Regions from separate parts of the Homo sapiens genome. Here region 2 is linked to region 1. Evidence: promoter capture Hi-C in human tissues and cell types (Jung and others, 2019). All regions are on one chromosome and are shown on one strand. The core of a region is centred on a gene start or on the middle of the fragment in contact, and the rest is flanking DNA. Distances in the headings are between cores, read along the strand shown. Region 1 holds the start of VSTM2L (V-set and transmembrane domain containing 2 like). Region 2 overlaps CTNNBL1 (catenin beta like 1).

Evidence for each region. The method cuts DNA at HindIII sites, captures the fragments that hold promoters and counts their contacts. A contact is called where the count stands out against the background at its distance.
Region 2: a fragment that was not itself captured here is called in contact with the fragment with the promoter of VSTM2L in region 1 in 3 of the 25 tissues and cell types used here (IMR-90 fibroblasts, bladder and neural progenitor cells).

What each region holds. Positions count from the first base shown.
Region 1 is chr20:37,900,665-37,905,310 of GRCh38, forward strand. VSTM2L (V-set and transmembrane domain containing 2 like) reads left to right here and starts at 2,463. Exons shown (of 4, transcript NM_080607.3): 1 at 2,463-2,807. The coding sequence starts at 2,687. The region is part of intron 2 of LOC124904896 (a long non-coding RNA gene); the gene reads right to left. RefSeq lists an enhancer at 1,763-2,726. The HindIII fragment of the contact is 19,122 bases long and covers 1-4,646 here.
Region 2 is chr20:37,779,195-37,784,250 of GRCh38, forward strand. It overlaps CTNNBL1 (catenin beta like 1), which reads left to right. Exons shown (of 16, transcript NM_030877.5): 10 at 1-141. Among named protein-coding and RNA genes, the nearest start is that of CTNNBL1, 88 kb to the left of the region's middle. The HindIII fragment of the contact is 4,926 bases long and covers 1-4,206 here.

The DNA.
Region 1 (4,646 bases), core at 1,213-3,712:
GATTACAGGTGCCCACCACCACTCCTGGCTAATTTTTGTATTTTTAGTAGAGATGGGATTTCACCATGTTGGTCAGGCTGGTCTCGAACTCCTGACCTCGTGATATGCCCACCTCGGCCTCTCAAAGTGCTGGCATTACAGGCGTGAGCCACCACACCTGGCCGATCACGAGCATTTTCAAAGGCATACAATCCCTGGATGTCTGTCCTTGAAGGAACCTTGACCTTGTTCCAGGCTTCAAAGAGAAAAGATTTCTGAAGGTCAGCCGGTGGGCTAGGGGCACAGCAGCAATGTGCTGCCATCCCGCCAGACCCCCTTCCTCTGCAGGCCTGAGCAATCTCTTGTTTACTCCTCTTTAATCTCCTCTCCCTCCCTGTCCCCTTGCCTGTGTCTGCTCCCTCCAATCTGTGGTTTAAGAGGAGAAAGCCCGGGTTTGAGTCCCAGTTCTGTCACCACAGTCTCCTGGTGAGGCCTCAGGCTGGGGTTGAAGGAGTCCTGGGTTTTAGTCTGGCTAACATGGTGGCTGCTATGTGATCTGGAGGATTCTCAGTTTCCATATCTTTATGATGGAAGCAGTAGTTCATTTCGCTGGGAGCGGGGTTCAGGGTAGTTAATGAATGAGAAAACACGTGCATAGAGTCCAAGACGCCTGGCCAGCCCAGGATAACCTAAACACCACCTCTGTGTGGGAAGAAAGTGAGAAGTGAGAGAATCAGGCAAACACGGCCCCTTCCTCCAAGGCATGTGGTCCAGAAGGTTCGGGGGGTGGGGGAAGCGGTCGACGCTTGGGACCTGTCCTCGGTACTGAAGGGAGCGCGGGGGCTGTGGACGGTGCTAGAACACAGTGCTTGTAAGTGCGGGACATCGTGGAGGAGGTGTCCTTAGTTTGGAAGGAGCTGGATTGTTGCTGGCTACCACGGGCCCCATCCGGTGTGCTACCCCCCCCCCATAATACTGGAAGGGGGGCGCTAAGACAGAGGGAAGACGGCGAGGGGCTATGTTCCTTGGTCTCTAACCTTGTTCTCAAACTTGGGCGCTGTACACACGGCTGGACGCGGGATCCACCTGTGTTCTGGAGTGGGGAGTGGGCTGTCGGAGGGGTTGACCCTGTTCGACGGGGACGGGGAAGAAAGTCTGAGGGTCTGTCCACGGTGTGAACCCTAGCATCAAAGGGCCAGTTGAGACGCTGTCCACGGTGCCCAAAGGATGGGCCCGGGTGGGGCGGGGGGCGGGGGGCGGGGGGGGGGCTGGCGCTGTCCTCCTCCGTGGTGCTGAAACCGGGAGGACCAGGCTGTGTGAGCAGGGAGGCCTGGGGAAGGGCAAGGGATGAGAGCAGGAGGGACCCCGCCCAGGAGTCAGGGGCCTCGCCCGACTCGCCGTGGGACCTCAGAGAAGCTAATTACCTGATTTCAGGCGCTTCCTTATCTTTTAAATGGGACCACAGTTCCGCCCTCCTGTCTGTCCCATCAGCCCCAGTAACACGGCTTGGGAAGGAACTGGAGGACTTTGTTGGATTCTTGCTCTTGGGAATGGGAATGGTGCCCTATCCCCCTCCCCTGCCACACTCACACACACATACACCCACGCATACGCGCGCGCACACGCACACGCACACACACACTCATGCACACACACACCATCAAGGCTCATTGGTCTAGGGAAGGAGCCTACAGTCCAGAAGGGGGCGATCCCATCCACCACATAAGGTCCAGTATCTTCAAGAGCCAGGAGCCGCAACAACTAACTGGCCTGTCTCTCTCCCATTACAAAGACTCGAAAACTGAGTCCCAGAAAGGGGAACACCGACAATAATAACTACTGAGCTCCTACCACGTAGGCAGCATTATGCTAAGCGCTTTGCATGCACGATTTCGCAAATCCTCACCAGGACCCCCGCAGACAGCTATTACCCCTATTTCTCAGATGAAGACTTCGAGGTTCAGAGAGGGGTAGACACCCGGACGCGATCACACAGCGAGCCGAGGTCGGCGGCAGAGCTATCACCAGGTCCCCTGGGTCTCAGCCCAGGCTCCCACCCTACCTCGCCCTCACCCCCAGCCCCACTGGCCCCTGACCCCGGCCCCGCCCTGCCGGTAAAGTTAGGAGCCTCTGAGTGCGCTGGCCTGGCGGCGGGTGCCCTGGCTTTTCTCCCTCTCCCCGCTGGACGGCATTTCTGTGGCTGAAGCCCGTTGGGTCGTGCTTTGCGGGAACCGCGTCCCTGGGGTGGCTCTCTCCGCCCCATCCCGGCCCCGCCTCCGCACTCGGGCGGGGGAAAGTTGCGGGTACCGCTTTAAAAATCCCAGCCTGGGCAAAACTTTGATGATAAATCAAGCGGCAGATCCCTCCGCCGCCTGCTCCGAGCGGGAGGAGGGAGGGGAGGAGGGAGGGGAGGAGGGAGGCGGGAGGAGGGAGGAGGGTGCGGCGGCGGCGCGGCGTGGCCTTCCGCGGAAGGGAAGAGTCCCGCAGTCGGAGGCGGCCGGCTGGGCGTGCGCTCGCTCCCCGAAGCCGGGGCTGGGCCGGAGCCGGGCGAGGGCTGGGAGCTGGGCCGGGTCCGGGGACAGCGGGCGAGGGGCAGCTGCCGGAGCCGGGCAGCCAGGCCGCTCAGGGCAGGGGACAGCTGGCGCCGGTTCTGCGGTCTCCGGGGCCCAGATGTGAGGCGGCGGCGCCCCCGGCCCGAGAGCGCACGATGGGGGCCCCGCTCGCCGTAGCGCTGGGCGCCCTCCACTACCTGGCACTTTTCCTGCAACTCGGCGGCGCCACGCGGCCCGCCGGCCACGCGCCCTGGGACAACCACGTCTCCGGCCACGGTGAGTTCGGTCGCCGCCCCCGCGGACTTCCCCACCAAACCCCAACCCGGGCCGCGCCACTCCAACTTGGCCGCCCCGGGGCTCGAACCGGCGCCAGTCGTGGCGGGCATCCCGGGGCGCCCCCTGCCGGCGCGGTGGACCCGCCCTGGCACCCTGGCCCTGCAGAGAAGGGGGCACCCGGGGCGCACCCCCGAACCTCCTCCCCACACACTCGCGCGGATACGCACACCTGCATGGCCACACCGATATGCACAGCCGCGGACACACTCAGAGCCACAGTCGCTGCTTTCTCACACTCACAACTCCTACCCTGCACATCTCCACACACCTCAGGTCCCCCTCCTCACTGCAAGCCTTTACACTTATGCCCACTACACACGCACATCAGGCACTGCGCCGGTGGGCTCACTCTGCCAGCTGGCGCACACGCTTCGCCACAACTCTTGCCTGCCCACCTGCAGACACACTGGTGCGCGCGCGCGCACACACACACAGGCACACACATACACACACATGAACACAATTTGCTCACCCACTCCTCTCTGCCCATCTGCCTTTACTCTTCTGGGTTTAACCGCACAGAGGCCCTTGTCCTCTTCCTCTCCACACCCAGCCCTATACCACTGGAAAGGTCCTTGGGGGCAGAAGACCTTGTTTCTTGAGAACTGGTCGCCTGGGGCTGCAGCCTCCCAGTTGGGCGGGTGGCACCTGGTGGAAGCCCCTCAGAGCCACCGGAGTAGTTGGGGTTGCTGCTTGCAGCCAGAGGCATGGGAGTGGGAGTGGAAGTGGAATGCCGGGTGCTTTTGTCTGCCTCTGGGGATGGGCAGGAAGCCGTGCCATCCTTCCATAGGGTACCCCCATCCTCATCCTCGGCCCTAGAGGACTGAAATGTGGGAAATCTCAACTCCAGCCGCTGTGGAAGCCGGGGAGCAGACAAGCATTCCCAGCACTGGCTGGCTGAGTGTCAGAAGCTCCTGCTAGCCCCGAAGGAGCCCAAGTTGGCAGCAGAGTTGGACTGTATGAGCCCGGCAGCTGTGGGGGCTCCCCCTGACCCCTGTGAGCCTGGCTCTGGGATGGAGGCTCGAGCATAGATGAAACCAAAGGAGACCTTTCTTCCATGCAGCCCTTCACTAGACAGGCTGACAGCCTTGTTGGGGAGGCTGCAGCCCCAGTGCTGGGCACTGTGGGCCCAGGGCTGTGGGGAGGTTTGCACAAAGGCCAGATAATTGGATGATTTATTCTGATGGGAGTGAGTGGGGGTAAGGCAGGGTAGATAATCAGGGAAGGTTTTGCTGGGGTATGACACATGAGTGGGATTGCTCCAGTGGAGAGGGGGGCTTCGAAGCCATCCTCAGGGTCTCTGCTTTTTGGGAACCATGACTCCCCGCCCCCTTCTGCCTCACCATGTTTGGTAGTAACTGCTGTGTGCATCATTTACATACCCTTCATGCCCCTCACCTCATTTCTACCGACCTGGCTAGAGCGGTGGTAAATAAGGAAAGGGTTCTTTTGATCCTCAACTTACAGATAGGGAAACCAAGGCTCAGAGAGGTGAAGGAAGTTGCCCAAGGTCACACAGTAAGAGAGTGACTGAGCCAGGACAGGCCCCAGGGTCTGTCAGGCAAAGACAGCGCTTTTTTCCAGGACATTCATCTCCCTGTCAGATTCCCTCCCATTCTAGGGAAACTGGGAATTCCTCCCTCTCCACCCCTCCTCTCCTCGCTCCGCTCAGTCCCTTGGCACAGTTGGAACTTACACTAGGAGGGGTTTCCATGGAGGGCCTTCCCTGAGTTTGCAGTCCCGAGGGGTATGAGGAATGGGACTCTGAGGCTTATGGTC
Region 2 (5,056 bases), core at 494-2,993, 120 kb before region 1:
AAGACACAATCCCAGCACGGCTGAGGAGCAGGAGATGATGGAGAATCTGTTTGATTCCCTCTGCTCCTGTCTAATGCTTAGTTCCAATCGTGAGCGCTTCCTGAAGGGCGAGGGTCTTCAGCTGATGAATCTCATGCTCAGGTATGTTTCGAATGCCCTAGTTCTCCCACCTTTTTTGCCTGACTTTTCACTGTTAGCCTGAATTCAAGAGCATGTAGCTATGATCATTTATTCTGTTGGGTTTCCTAGACTTTACCCTGAAGAGTAAAGTCTTCAGGCATGGGGGGATGTGTTTGTATAGGTATGTGGTCTTTCCTAAAGTTAGAGTAGATGAATAAAAAGTATATTGTGTTCTGTTTGTGCCCTACTGTGGTGGTTGCTAATACGTCCACTCCATTGAAGGACATTGGTGTTTTTCCTCTCCTTCCCATAGTGTGTTAGTTTTGGGGAAATCTAGCCATTACTTCTAAACTTGGACTAATTTTCTGTATATATCACATAGACCTATCTATGCCATATGTTTGTATTTTTATTGAAAGCAGCGTATCATTCATATTTTTCACTCCTCATTCAGTAATGAGTTGTACATGTGCTGTATGCCTAGCTTAGGAAATATGAAAACGTGCAAGACAGTTCTAGAAACTTTTATTTATAGTACTTTCCTTGTGTGTCTTATTATTTATACGCTAATTCCTGAAAGTGGATCTTATATTAGTTTCACAGTTATTTTATAGAATCCTAAAGTTAGAAGCAAAAAGGGGAGAGGAAGCTTATGTTGATAACTCTTGAGACCCTGTCTAGGAAGGGGAGTAGAGAAGTGTGTGGGGGAAGGCTGAGGGGATAACCAGACTGTGGTATAGGGTCAAGGGACTTAAAAAAAAAAATCGAGCATGTTTATGTGGTTGGAAGATTCTAGTCATTATGAATTGTGCCCTACAGAGGAGCAAGTTGAGATTTAAAAAAAAAAAAAACAAGAAAAAAAGAAATGGAGCCAGAGTCTGCTGTCTTAAAACTTCAAGTATACTGAAAGTTCTGTTGAACTAAGATATTTCTTTGGAAAGGTTTTTCATAAATGTGATATATATTTGTTAAATAGAATTTAGAATACTAACATATAAAACTGCTATTAAAACATTGACAAGGTACTATGTTAAGTACTGGGCATACACAGAAATACCTAAGACAGAATTTCTGTCTCCACAAAGTTAGGAAAACAGTTCTGTGAGCTAAACACAGCCTGTCTTTGGGTGTATATTTTCTTCTAGTCTTTTTTTCTATAATTTTTAACAACTTTTTAAGCCTGCCACACATAGGATTTTCTGTATTGCTACATTTCAGACATAAGATGCTGTTTCCCATGCTGTGAATAATCTTCATGAGAGTTTTCAGTAACTGCATCATGGCCTCTAAGGGACTGTAGCTTACTTAGTATTCTTCTGTTGTTGGCATTGAGGATATTTCCAATGTTTTGCCGTTATAACAAATTCTACAGTGACCATTTTTGTGTTTAAAATGATGTTAGGATTATCCAGGTACAGTAAGTCCTCACTTAACATCATCAGTAACATTCTTGGAAACCATAACTTTAAGCGAAATGATGTATAATGAAACCAGTTTTTCTGATCATTGTTATAACGGTGTTATTTGAGGATCTGACCTCCTATATCCCGTTTTACTTAAAGTTGCCATTTCCAAGTCTATCTATGATGTTAAGTGATGACTTACTGTGTATATTTCTAAAATATATTATCTTTAAAAGGCTTCTGGGGGGCTGGAGGCACAGTAGACCTCTTCATTTGTCCAGTGTGTACCAGACCTTGCATTGACCAAAAGTCTTCCTTTGAGGAATTGCTTTTAAAAACAATTTTTAAAAAAATGCAGAGAGGAGCATGAGAAATTACTCAGAGGCCTTTTGTGTTTAGCTGATTTTTGCTAGCTTTACTCTCTTGAGTCTTTTGTTTATCTCCCTTACCCTTCTAATTGCTTGTCCTTTTGTTGAAATGACCCACCTTCTCTCAAGTAAATAGCATAAATAGAAGATACATTTGGCTTCTTGGATCTTCTAACCTTAACACAATGTTCTGAAGGGACTTTTCCTTAAGCTTCTTAAAGGTCTGAATTGCCAGTGTCTTTGGTTGGTTGAGTGCAAATATGAAGTGATATATTTCTGCAGCATATGGCTAGGTATTGCATAGCAGAGGGGAGCTGAATAAATAACCAGAAATATGGATTATTCAAACAGGAATGCTGAGATTCAGGGAGGCTAATTAAAGGAGAGCTCCAAAAAACTTAGAAACTGTACCTCTCTAGATCTCCTAACTTCATTTTTGAATGCTGAAGTTGCTGTTACATTCATTCTTTGGCATTAATTAGCTATATTAGCAGATTCAGCATTTCCTTTTTTCTCATTCCCATACTCTTTGTTCTGTGTTATTTTTCTTCAGACTCCCAAATGGAAAGTTTAATTGGGATGGAATTTTTTTTCCATACTATAGTCACCCTTTCTGATCTTCTAGTAAGAGCTGCCAGGTGGCTCTTTGTCTAGAGAGAGCCTATTCAAGACTATGAAGCTGTAACACTAGAAGTTCAGGAAAGTTTCTGTGGTTCCATTGCCCCTAAATATAGATCTTTACTTTGACTCAGTCATTCATCAGACAGTTGTGAAATGCCCACATGGAGAGGTGGCAGTATGGAGCAGGGTGGAAGAATGGGCCTGGGACTTGTAAGTGTGGGTTTGGAACATGCTCTTTTACTTACTAGCTCTGGATATTTGGTGAGTTACTTTAACCTTTGTGACCTTCTCACCCTCAGTTTTTCATCTGAAAACCGGCACTAATAATACCAAATTTACAGGTATTTTGGCAGAATTAAACTATATAAAGTATCTAGGAGAATTCTACAGTTGCAAAACACTGCTAAGGTACTATGTTAACTTTCTACGTTAAGTGCTAGGTTTATACAGAGATGAACAAAACAGGGTTCCTGCCTCCAAGAAGCTCAAAGGCTAGTGAGGGATGCACACATTAAATAACTATAATATAATTTAATATGATGACGCTTCAGGAGAACAGTTACTTTTGCATGTATATATACTCAGTGAATTTTTTTCCTTTCTGATTATTGATGAAGAAAGATCACAAACAAGATACTCATTGATACATACTCCCTCCTTCCCACACATATGTGCACACACACACAAGCATATATTCACTACCAATTTAATATTTTTGTCTACTTTATTGAGGCATAATTTTTATACAGTAAAATGTACGCATTTTAAGTGTACAGTTTTGACAGATGTTTCCACCACCACAGTGAAGATGTAGAACAGCACTATCCAGTCGAAATGTAATGTGAGATAGGTAATTTTACATTTTGTAGTAGCTACCACATTTAAAGGGTTAAAAGAAACAAAAATAATTTTAATAATGTATTTTATTTAACATAGTAAGTCAAAAATTATTTCAACATGTAATCAATATGACAAAATTATTAGTAAGCCATTTCACATTCATTTTTTGAGACTAAGTTTTCAAAATCCAGTGAACATTTTACATTTACATCCCAATTCAGATGCTAAATTTTCATCAGAATGCTTGATTTGTATTTAGATTTCATAAAATTTAGAGTTGAAAACATAGATTCTCATACTTAAGTTTGTCCAAAGATACTTAAATGTTTTCCAATAAGTCCAGTATCAATTTTTAAATTTTAAACTTAAATTTATTTAAATTATATTTAAAATTTAGTTTCTCAGTTACAATAGCCACATTTCAGATGCTCAGTAGCTACACAGTGTCTACCATATAGGATGATGTATATACAGATTCTTTTTATCACTCCCAAAGGTTCCCTTGCATGCCGCCAGGCCTGGCTAATTTTTTAAAAATATTTTTGGCAGAGACAGGATTTCACCATGTTGCCCAGGCTGATCTTGAACTCCTGAGCTCAAGCTATCCACCTTTCTTGGCCTCCCAAAGTGCTGGAATTACATGTGTGAGCCATTGCACCTGGCCAAATGCCTCCTTTTTCATTTCCGGTTTTTATTTATTTGATCCTCTCTCTTTTTTTCTTAATCTGGCTAAAGGTTTATTGATTTTGTTTATCTTTTGAAACCTAACTTTTAATTTTGTTGATCTTTTTTATCTTTTTTTGTTTGTTTCATTTATTTCTGCTCTGATCTTTATTATTTCTCTTCGTCTACTAATTATGGGTTTGGTTGGCTCTTACTTTTCTAATTCTTTAAGATGTATTGTTAGGTTGTGTATTTGAAGTTTTTCTACTTTTTTGTTGTAGGTGCTTATTGCTATGAACTTTCCTCTTAATACTGCTTTTGTTGTATCCCATAAATTTTGGTATGTTGTGTTTCCATTTTCATTTGCTTCAGACTGTTTTAATTTCTTTCTTAATTTCTTCATTGGCCCACTGGTTATTCAAGAGCATATTGTTTAATTTCTGTTTGAATAGTTTCTGGAATTCCTCTTGTTATTGATTTCTAGTTTTTTTCCATTGTGATCAGAGAAGATACTTGACAGAATTTCAGTTTTCTTGTATTTTTAAAGAATTGTTTTGTGGCCTAACACATGAACTATTCTTGAGAATGACCCATGTGCTAAGGAGAAGAATGTGTATTCTGCAGCTTTTGGATGATATGGTTTGTCACTATCTATTAAGTCCATTTAGTCTATACTGCAGATGAAGTTTGATGTTTGTTGATTTTCTGTCTGGATGTTTGATCCAGTGCTGAAAGTGGGGTGTTGAAGTCTCCAGCTTTTATTGGGATCTGTCTCTCCCTTTAGCTCTAATAATATTTGCTTTATCTATCTGGGTGCTCCAGTGTTGGGTGCATATATATTTATAATTGTTATATTCTTTTGCTGAATGGGTCCCTTTACCGTTATGTAATGACCTTCTTTGTCTCTTGGTCTAATTTTTGTCTTGCTATCTATTTTGTCTGATTTAAGTCCAGTTCCTCTTGCTCTCTTTTGGTTTTCATTTGCATAGAATATCTTTTTCCATCCTTTTATTTTCAGCCTATATGTGTCTTCATAGGTGA